Regions from separate parts of the Homo sapiens genome. Here region 2 is linked to region 1. Evidence: promoter capture Hi-C in 16 types of primary human blood cells and fetal thymus (Javierre and others, 2016). All regions are on one chromosome and are shown on one strand. The core of a region is centred on a gene start or on the middle of the fragment in contact, and the rest is flanking DNA. Distances in the headings are between cores, read along the strand shown.

Region 1 (4,701 bases), core at 1,090-3,589:
CACCCCCCGCCACCTCCCTCCTCCCGCTTCGCCCGCTTCCCCGGCGGCGTGGAGAAGAGCAAAGTTGCGACAGCGGCCGGGGGCTCTGCCCAGGTAAAGGGGGCGCCGTGAGGCGGGGGTGGTGGGGGAACGGTGCGGCCCTGCGGCGGGGGCGGGGGGAGGATAAAGAAACTTGCTTCCCGCGGCCCCCACCCCGCGTGGGTTCCGATCTTGCGTGGAACGAGCCCGCGTGGCGAGTCGCGGCAACACTGCCGGGACCGAGGCCGGCACCTGGACCCGGACCCGGACCGCGCGCTTGGGCCGGCTCGGCGGGCGCAGGCAGCGGGCCAGGCCAGCACCCAGGCAAGGGCGGGGTGGGTGGCCGTACACCGGACCGAATCGGGGACTCCGGTGGCGTGGGCGCGGGCCGAACCCCGACCGGGCCGAGTTGGGTGGCGAAGTAGGACGTGGATTCGGGGGCGGGGCGCGGCGGGAGGGGGAAACCAGGCCTGGCCAGACTGGCCTGGGCGTGGGGGCGGGGGGCGAGTTCGGGGCACTTGCTGGGCTCTGGACCGAGCGGTAGGGCGGGGCGGCGCTAGGGGCTGGGCCGGACCCGCAGGGAGAGGGCGAGGGGAGGGAGAGCCGGGGGTGGAGTAGGGGCGTGGAGTTGTGAGCGGGGTCTGGCCTCGGCCGGGGGCGAAGGTAGATCGGCGGGGCCGCGAGCGGAGGGAGGGAGGCCCGCGGCGGCGCGGCGGCAGCGAAGGCCAGCTTCCGCGGAGTTTGTGCCCGGGCTTCCCGGGCTCTGGCCGCCTCACGCGCACAAATGGGGCTAGGGGACTGAGTGGTAAGCAACTCCGAGTGTTAGACGGTGATCGGGCGGCGATTCCGGGAAAAGCGAGGAAAGACACAGTCTGCGATTGTGCCGCACCCCCCACCCACCTCTTAGCATCTGGATTCTGCTCTCGTAGTGGGGGCCGCGGACCCTCCCCGCCACAGTCCTTTTACTCTCCAGCACTCCCACCGCCTTCCCCCTTCTTCAGCCATCTGACTCTCCTAGGGGTATGTGTTTTTGGGGGTGGACGGCGACGGGGGTGGGGGATACTTTCCTTCCCGTGGCGGCAACCTAGTTCGTATCTTATTCCTACAAGGTAGCGTCGCTTCGAGTCGCATGGACATTGGGGTTTAGATAATTTACCCCCCACCCAAGCGATTTAATGGCTTTTAAGCAAAAGGCGAATACCTGGATTTCCATGGGAGGGATGAGGTTTGAAGATTGGGATTCACCCCTAGCTCACTTCCACTACCAACCCCTCTTTCTTGTGAGCCACTTCCACGGGTATTCAAATCTGGGGGGGAGGGGGGACGGGAGTATTAATATGCTTCTCTATTTCTACACAGGGTCGGCGTGGCGAAGGACGGCTAGCCTTGGAGGGAAAGTAGCCACCAGTCCAACTCGGGTCGCCCCCACCATTATTTCGGTGAGGGGGCAACGCTAAGAAGGGGATACTGGTGGGTAGGGGCCCAGTATAAGGGAGGGGGCTGGGTAGTCGTCCCCAGAAGGACTCCGTGTCTTGGCGGGGAGAGAGAGAGGCGAGCCCCGGCTTCAGGGGAGGGGTTCCGGGGAGGGAGATGGGGGGGTGGCGACGACGGTGGGGGGGGGAGCGGGAAGAAGGGGGAGTCACGCCCTGCCTGCAAGGGGAGCCTCCCTCAGGCCCCTGGGAGAAGGGGACTGAATGCGTCTGTTCTCCGCTGCCCGGCAGAGGAGATCTGGGGTCTCGAGATTTGCACACTGGATCGGCACCAGTGGCCTGAGAAAGTCAGGTCGGGGCATAAGGTGGAGAACGTTGGAAGAAAGAGAGAGAACCCTTTGGCCGCGGCTCACTGACCCTCTCCCTTCCTCAACCTCCCCCTTCGAGGGGCGTCGAGGTGGGGGGGGACGTGGGGCTCCTGCAGCCCCGCAGATTGAGCGCCTCCGCCTCTCCCAGGAGTCTAGCTTTTTGCCCGGCTTGCTGCAGCCACTGCTGCCTCCCTCTCCGGAATCCGCTCGGTCCTCTCAGCGATCCCCTCCTCCTCTCCTCCCCTCCCAGTGTCACCGGGGCTGCTTGGCTCTGCCCCCTTCGCCGCCGCTTGCTCCCTGCTTTCGTCCCTCCCTCTCTTGCTCGCTCCCTCCCTTCGCCTCCTCCTCCCCATTCCCCCCCACCCGCGTAGGCCGCATTCTGGGAGTTGTAGTCCGGTGGAGCGGGGGTTGGCGCCGCCCGCGGACCCAGCCGGACTCCACTTCCCGTCGAGCCCTGCGACCGGCACCCACTCCACCAGGCTTCGCTCGCACACAGACACACACACACACCGCTCTCCCCCTCACTCTTTCGCTCGCCGCGGCTGCTGCCAGTGTGTGGCTCTGTCTCTCCTCCGCTTTGCTGAGCCCTCCCTTCTTCCTCTCAGTTCCTAGAGTCCGACCGCCGCCGCCGCCGAGAGAGAGGAGAAGGAGGTCGGTGGCGATAAGGGGCGGAGGGGGGCATCAGATCGGGGCAGTATTAGGCGGGTGGCGGTTAAGAGGGAGTAAGAGGGAGCCCGGGTGGCGGCCTGAGCCTCCCCGCGGAGCCGACCCGGGAACAGGTGCGTCTTTTTTCTCTCTCCCCCAATCCCTCCACCCCTTTTGACTCCCCGGCTTTTTCGTATCCCCCCACCCGCTTCTTTCTATCTTAAGCCTTTCTCCAACCCTGTTCCTTCTTTTCCCTGCGGCCGCTCGGCTTGCCCCCCGGGGGCGCCGTCCTCTTCGTGTCCCCGGACGTAGCGCTCCCTGGAGCTGGGTATGTCTTCGCCCCTCCCTTCGGGACAGCTCCCTTCCACTTCCCACCTTCGTACCCCATCCCCTGACTTGCCCTACCCCCTTCTCGACCCCCTTCTCTCTTAGCCAGGTGAGACTCGTTCGCCACGATCCAAGAGAGTCTTCTTCCCGGCTGGGCGGGGGTCTCCATGGAAACGGGGGTCGGTTGATCCTGGGGGGGAAACCATAGGAATTACCCCACTCCTCGGAAAGGGAGGTGGAGGCTATGGTCTTGTTAACTACCTGACTCCAACCCCCGATCCAAGGATCCGACGATCCGAAGGGAGGCTGGCTAGCAGGGCAGGGCGAGAAAAGGCTTTTTTTTGGGGGGGGGGGGTGTCCGTGATGAAGTGTTGAAGAGACCGGGAGAAAATGCCCTCCAACCTCAGAGGGGAGGTGCGACGGGTGCTCTTCAGGGCTGCTTTCTTCCCGGCGCTGGGGTGCGGGAATCGTAGGGTAAGGGGTACCCCTAGGTGGCGGCGGGGCCTGGGTTCGGGAGTGGGAGTGCTGTGATGGGGGCAGGGGCAATTATCCGAGTCCCTGGAAAAAAGGCGGGGGATGACTTCGGAGCGCCCTGGCTCCGCTGCCCTCGCTCTAGGGGCGGGGGCCGCCGGGCCGGGCGCGGCGGGGAGGGGGCTTAAATTGAAGGAAGATGAGATCGGGGGCAATTCATACTAGCACCGGCAAGCCAGAGGGGAGATCCGGCGTGCAAGCCCTCCACCCGCTTCGCGCCAGGCCTGGAGGCAAGGGGTCGGCGAGCGAAGCCGAGGGCTGGAAGGAGGGAGGCTCCGGTTACGGGGCCGGGTTTCGGGATCAGGGGCAATCCCCCGGCCCTTGGAGAAGGAGGGAGAGGGATGGCCGCGAACCCCAGGGCTCCCCCACCCCGGGTCCTAAGGGGCGTGAGGGACGGACAGCAGGCCCAGCGGAGCTGGATTCGAGCGGATCGCGGCCGGGGAGTGGGAGGGCTTAGTGGTGGGCTTCGGGGGGAGCAGTCCGGCGGCGGGGCGGGCGGGCGGGGCGTGGGGCTCCGGCGGGCGGCGGGGCGGGGCCGGGGGCGGCGCTGCTGCCGCCGCCGCTGCCGCCGCCGCCGCTGCTGCTCCTGCTGGGGCCGCCGCAGCCGTTGCCGCCGCCGCCGCCGCCGCTTCTGGGCGGGGAACGGAGGCCAAAGAGAGTCCCGTGCCGGGGCAGAGGGCGCAGGCGGCGCGCGGTGGGGAGGGGGCCGTCCTGGGGGCGGGGGCAGGCGGGGGGGTGGAGCCCCCGACGGGGGGCGGTACGAGCCGGGACGACGACGACGAGGAGCCCCGGGGGCCGGGTGCATGGAGGACGAGGTGCTGGGAGAAGGAAGGGGGGTGTGGGTCCCGCGACTGGCCTCGTGGGCTTGGCTCCTCGAGGTTCGGTTTCGGGACAGAGCCCTGCAGGGGCGCCAAGAGGCCGGGGAAGGGATAGGGAGGTGAACTGGTCGGTGGAGGGGGCCCTCCTCGCCGGGGTCCCGCCGAGAGGAAGGCTGGGCCAGAGGGACGTCCGGGGCAAGGCTGGGAGGAGCCGGCCGCACCTCGGCTGGGGATTTCGCGTTATGGAGGTGCGGGAGATTGTTGTAGGGAAAGACGTGGTCGAGGGGAAAGGTGGGAGGGAAACACTGCAAACCCGGGAGGCCAACAGCACAGGCCCGTGGGGGTGCCCTTCTATTCCGCTCGCACCTCCTCCCTCCCTGAGTGGAAGCACTATGTTTTTGTTTTATTGTTTTGAAATTTTCAATGTTGGCTGATCGAAACTGTCGATGGGGTGATATTCATTCTTGGTGTCTCCTGGAGTAGACAGTAAAGACAGGCATCCTTTGGCGAGCAAGCATCTAGCCCAGGGTTTAGAGGCTCTTTACGTTAGTGTGGGAAGGGGGC
Region 2 (4,701 bases), core at 1,544-4,043, 79 kb after region 1:
GAAGTAGCCTTCTCTGTGGTGGCTGTGGGAATAAGCCTCCTTAAGGAAGTCCCCTGCTTGCCCTAGGCCACCCTGCCGAGGTGGCATCTGGCTGCATGGCCTCATCACTGCCCTCACTGTTGTGCCAGTGCTCCCCACCCACGGTGCAGGCCTTCCATGGTTCTGTTTTCCTGCCACCGAGCTACCATGAAGGCAAGATGCCCATCCTGGATTTTGCAGTTTTTCCTCCCACTTCTGAAAAACAGTGGTAGAAGCTATGATTCTTGTGATTGCTGGTTCCAGAATGCACCAGTGACTGAGAGGAAGAGGATGTTCGAGAGGCCTGGGATGAGGCCCTTTGAAGCTCTATTCTCTTAGGGCTTCTCACTGTGGCTTTCGAGTCTGGAGAGCCCTGTTAGAGAGTGTAGAGGCGAAGGGATCTGTGCGTCTGGCTGGCTGGAGTCCAGCCGTCCTCAGGAGTGAACTCTAAGCTGCTGTCTTTGCTCAAGCCTCAGAAGCTTGGCTCGACCCAGGTCCAAGCATCATCCTCTTTGAACCATAGCATTAATCTTCCTCATTGGCCGTCCTCTCCCCACTTTCTGATCCCAAGGCCCTATGCAATAGCCACCTTTGTCAGATTCCCAAACAAGCCCACAGTGGTTCTGAATTCAGGTCGATCCTGTGCTTGGAACTTGCAGTTAAGTCAAGAAATCTGACATGTTGATAGGTTATAAAGCCATGTGGTGAGTATAAGAATTCAACTAGTCCCAGGATGCTATGGGAGCTCAGAAGCATGGGCAAGGGCCCTGGGAACACATCCTAGAAGAGGTGATGCCTAGTTGATACTTTAAAAAGTAGAAATGCAGGAATTAGAGGTGGCAGGGAAGAGTGTTTGAACTGAGAGGACAATCTGAGCAAAGGCTTGGATACAAGGGGAGTTAAAAGCAAAACCAAACAGCAGATTGTTTTATTGCTTTTGGGGTTCTTTGCCCACGGCTTACCTGGAGTCCCACTGCCCTTCTGCCAGGTTGGAAAGATCAAGGCAGGAAGTATGGGCCGTGGCATTAAATCTACATCCCCGGTCAGGATTGGGGTGAGGATGGCTTGGTGGCCTCTTATTAAATGATCTCCCAGTCCTTTTAGTATGGTGTAGAGGAAAGAGCCAGCACCACTCCTAACTACCTAGGCTGACCTTGGGCGAGAACCTAATCTTTCCCAGCCTTAATTGCTCCATCAGCCAAATGGAGGCCAATGTACCCACCTACTGACAGAGCATCACACTGAGGACCATAAAGATCTGTTTAGCCAAAATTAGTTCCTCCTTCATGCCGAGCTCACGAACCTATGGTTAATGAGGGTCTTATCAGAACGCTCTTTGGGCTTGAAAGAGAGGCTCTGTTCAAGTCTTGGTGGGAGGAGGGATAGTCTCCGCATCCCTATTTGGGGTAGGTGGGGTTGGGGGCGGTGGTGAATGGGGCAGTAAACTCCTGCTCGGTCCATACTCTAACCCAATAACCGGGAGGCCTGGTGGGTGTTTAACTGTGTCCTGCCCATGCAAAGACCAGTGTGTGTGTGTTTGGGAAGGGTGGGGTCCGCCCCAGGGGCGTCTGCTCAACTGCTGGGCAGGGGGACGCGAAGTGCTCGGGCCTTCTGGATCCCGCAGCAGGATCCGGGCCGGGGCTCCACTCGTTTCCCTAGCGCTCCGGCTGCCACCGCGCGGGGGTCGGCCGAGCCGCAGCGTCCGGCCTCTGGGGGCGACGTCTTTAGGCCCCGCGCCGGTCCTTGGGAGCCGGGCTCGTGCGGCGGACGGTCAGGTCCCTCCGCTAGCAAACGGCTGTCTGGGGCGCCTCGATCGCTCTCCCGCTTCACGGTAGAAGGCGGCGGCGCGCGAGGGGAGGGGAGGGCAGGCCGGGTGACTGCGACTCCGCGTGCTCACCTGCTGGTCCGCGAGGCTGAGGGAGGGGGCGCCGGGGGCGGGGCCAGAGCGCGGCTGGCCAATGGGGGAGCGCATTCGGCGGCCGGCTAAATTCCCCCTGGAAAGTGAAGGGGGCTGGGGTCGAGGGGAAAGTTCGAAGCTCCGGAGCAGCGGAGGGCTTTGGTGGCGGCCAGAACCATCCGGGGACAGTTGCAGGCGCAGGGGCAAGATCGGGGGACCGGAAGACGCCAGCCGCGGCCGCGGCCGCCTCCGCCAGGGACGGTAGGCCCAACCCTGGCTGCCCCTCCCTTCCCGGGCCCCGCCGGGCCACTCTCCCGCCATCGCTGGCTCGACAGCGCCACCTGCTGGACGTCGGCCTCCACGTCCGGCGCGCCGGGGCCCGAAGTTCTCGGAGGCTGGGACCTCAGTCTGGGAGGGGAAGGAGCTCACTCACCCCAGGTCCAGCGGCTTCAGAGCTGGAGGCAACTGCCTCTTTTGGAGTACAAGATGGGATCAGAAAGGCCTGTGACCGTCAGAATAACTTCTTGTCCCGCCCCACCCACCGGAGCTGACACTTCCACCGCACAGCCCCACCCAGGGGTGAGGAAATAGTGGCGAGGCAGTCCCTGGAAGCGGGCAGCAGCAAAGGGCGGGAGTTCGGGAGTTGCACGTGGCACCTGGTGACAGCAACGCACAGCTGGCAAGCAGCCCTGGGCTCCTCATGGACCCTGTGATCCGGGGATGTCTGTTAACACTCCAGGGGCAAAGGAAGTAGCCGCCTGCAGTGTTATAGGAGCGGGCAGAAAGCTGCCTTAGCTCCCAAGTGTGGATTGTCCTCCTCCCTCTCCTCTTGCCTGCCATAGCATAGGGCAGAAGTCTCAGAATTAAAATCAGGACCAGTTCCTTCTTTCAATAAGCATTTATTAAGAACCTACTGTGTGCTAGGCACTAGGGATATATCAGTGACTAACACACAGTCCCTGTCCTTGAGGAGCTCACAGCCTATTGGCGGGGAACCCTACATAAACACGTAATTAAAGAACTGTACTGTGCTAAGTGCTACCATAAGAGGTATTTACAAAGTGCTGTGAGGTGGCTCAGGGCTGTAATCCCAGCACCTTGGGAGGCTGAGGTGGGCGGATCACTTGAGGTCAAGAGTTCGAGACCAGCCTGGCTAACATGGTGAAACCCGTTCTCTACTAAAAATACAAAAATTAGCCGGGCGTGGTGGCACGCAGCTGTAGTCACAGCTACTTGGGAGGCTGAGGCAGGAGAACCGCTTGAACTCGGGAGGCAGAGGCTGCAGTGACCCAAGATCGCACCACTGCGCTCCAGCCTGGGCAACGGAGGGAGACTCTATCTCAAAAAAATAAAGAAAACAAAGTGCTGTGGGAACCCAGAGGAGGGAGTAACATATCAGCTGCTGGGAGATGAGGGTCATCTCTTGACTCCTGACTCCATTAAACCAAGAAAAGGCAGAGACTTACTGCCACATGACTCTGGTTAAAATGAACCTGTCTCCTGAGGTTCTCCTCTAGCCCTCTCCCATAACTGTATCAGCACAGGTTAATTGGTTTAGCTAGTTTCACACTTGGAGTAGGAAAGAAACTGGACAGGGAAGTTGCTTTAGGGGTAGAGGATGTTCAAAATAGTAACAAATTTTGAGTGCTAAGATGGGGGGGTGGGGTTGGGGATACCATGAGGGCACTGAGCCAGGGAGGGCAGGCCCAGAGCAGTGGAGCACCTGGGGTGAGTGCCTGTGCAGAGGGGAGGTCAGAGGTCACCTACCTCAAAGTTTGGTCCCCATCTCCCACCGGCTCCATCAGTAACCATTACCTTGATCCTTTGTACTGTGCCATGTTACGTGGTTGATACAGTCCCTCCCACTCCTCAAGGAGGTAATGTGCTAATTGGGGACACTAAATAGGTACAGGTCATTGAAGATTTAAGTAACAGTTTGCATTATAATAGATGTCACAGGGTGTTCATGATCAGTTGCTGAAAGAGTGGCAATTGCAATAAGTTTTAAATAACTCACTTAGGACAGACTGGTCTGGGGAGGCAGAGTCCATGAATCGAGTCTTGAAGGAGGGACACAATTTAATTGGTACTAGCAGGATAGGAAGGACATTCTGATTGAGTGGAACCAATCAGATCTTGAAGGATGGATTGTACTTTTTTTCTTTTCTTTTTTTTTTTTTTTTTTTTTGAGACAGTCTTGCTTTGATCACCCAGGTACAATCTCGACTCACTGCAAATTCCACCTCCAGGTTCAAGGGATTCTCTGCCTCAGCCTCCCCAGTAGCTGGGATTATAGGTGCGTGCCACCAAGCCCGGTTAATTTTTGTATTTTTAGTAGAGATGGGGTTTCGCCATATTGGCCATGTTGGTCTCCAACTCCTGACCTCAGGTGATCCGCCCACCTCAGCTTCCCAAAGTGCTGGGATCACAGGCGTGAGCCACTGTGCCTGGCTGTGGATGGATTTTCTTTCTTTCCTTTTCGTTTCTTTTTTTTTTTTTTTTTTTTTTCAAGATGGAGTCTCACTCTGTCGCCAGGCTGGAGTGCAGTGGCGCGATCTCGGCTCATTGCAACCTCTGCCTCCCGGGTTGAAGTGTTTCTCCTGCCTCAGCCTCCCGAGTAGCTGGGACTACAGGCACACACCACCATGCCCAGCTAATTTTTGTATTTTTAGTGGAGACGGGGTTTCACCATGTTGGCCAGGATGATCTCGATCTCTTGACCTCGTGATCTGCCTGCCTCGGCCTCACAAAGTGCTCGGATTACAGGCATGAGCCACCGCGCATGG

The links. Contacts are between HindIII fragments. The CHiCAGO score rates a contact against its expected background, and 5 or more counts as called.
Region 2: a contact is called between a fragment that was not itself captured here and the fragment with the promoter of BCORL1 in region 1, in 11 of 17 cell types (non-activated CD4 T cells, activated CD4 T cells, total B cells and 8 more). The highest score is 11.1, in non-activated CD4 T cells.

Annotation. Positions count from the first base shown.
Region 1 is chrX:129,980,296-129,984,996 of GRCh38, forward strand. It overlaps BCORL1 (BCL6 corepressor like 1), which reads left to right and starts at 2,340. Exons shown (of 14, transcript NM_001379451.1): 1 at 2,340-2,467. RefSeq lists a silencer at 3,169-3,405. The HindIII fragment of the contact is 8,398 bases long and covers 1-4,701 here.
Region 2 is chrX:130,058,423-130,063,123 of GRCh38, forward strand. No RefSeq gene overlaps it. Among named protein-coding and RNA genes, the nearest start is that of ELF4, 50 kb to the right of the region's middle. RefSeq lists silencers at 1,807-2,066, 2,087-2,386, 2,407-2,476. The HindIII fragment of the contact is 4,596 bases long and covers 496-4,701 here.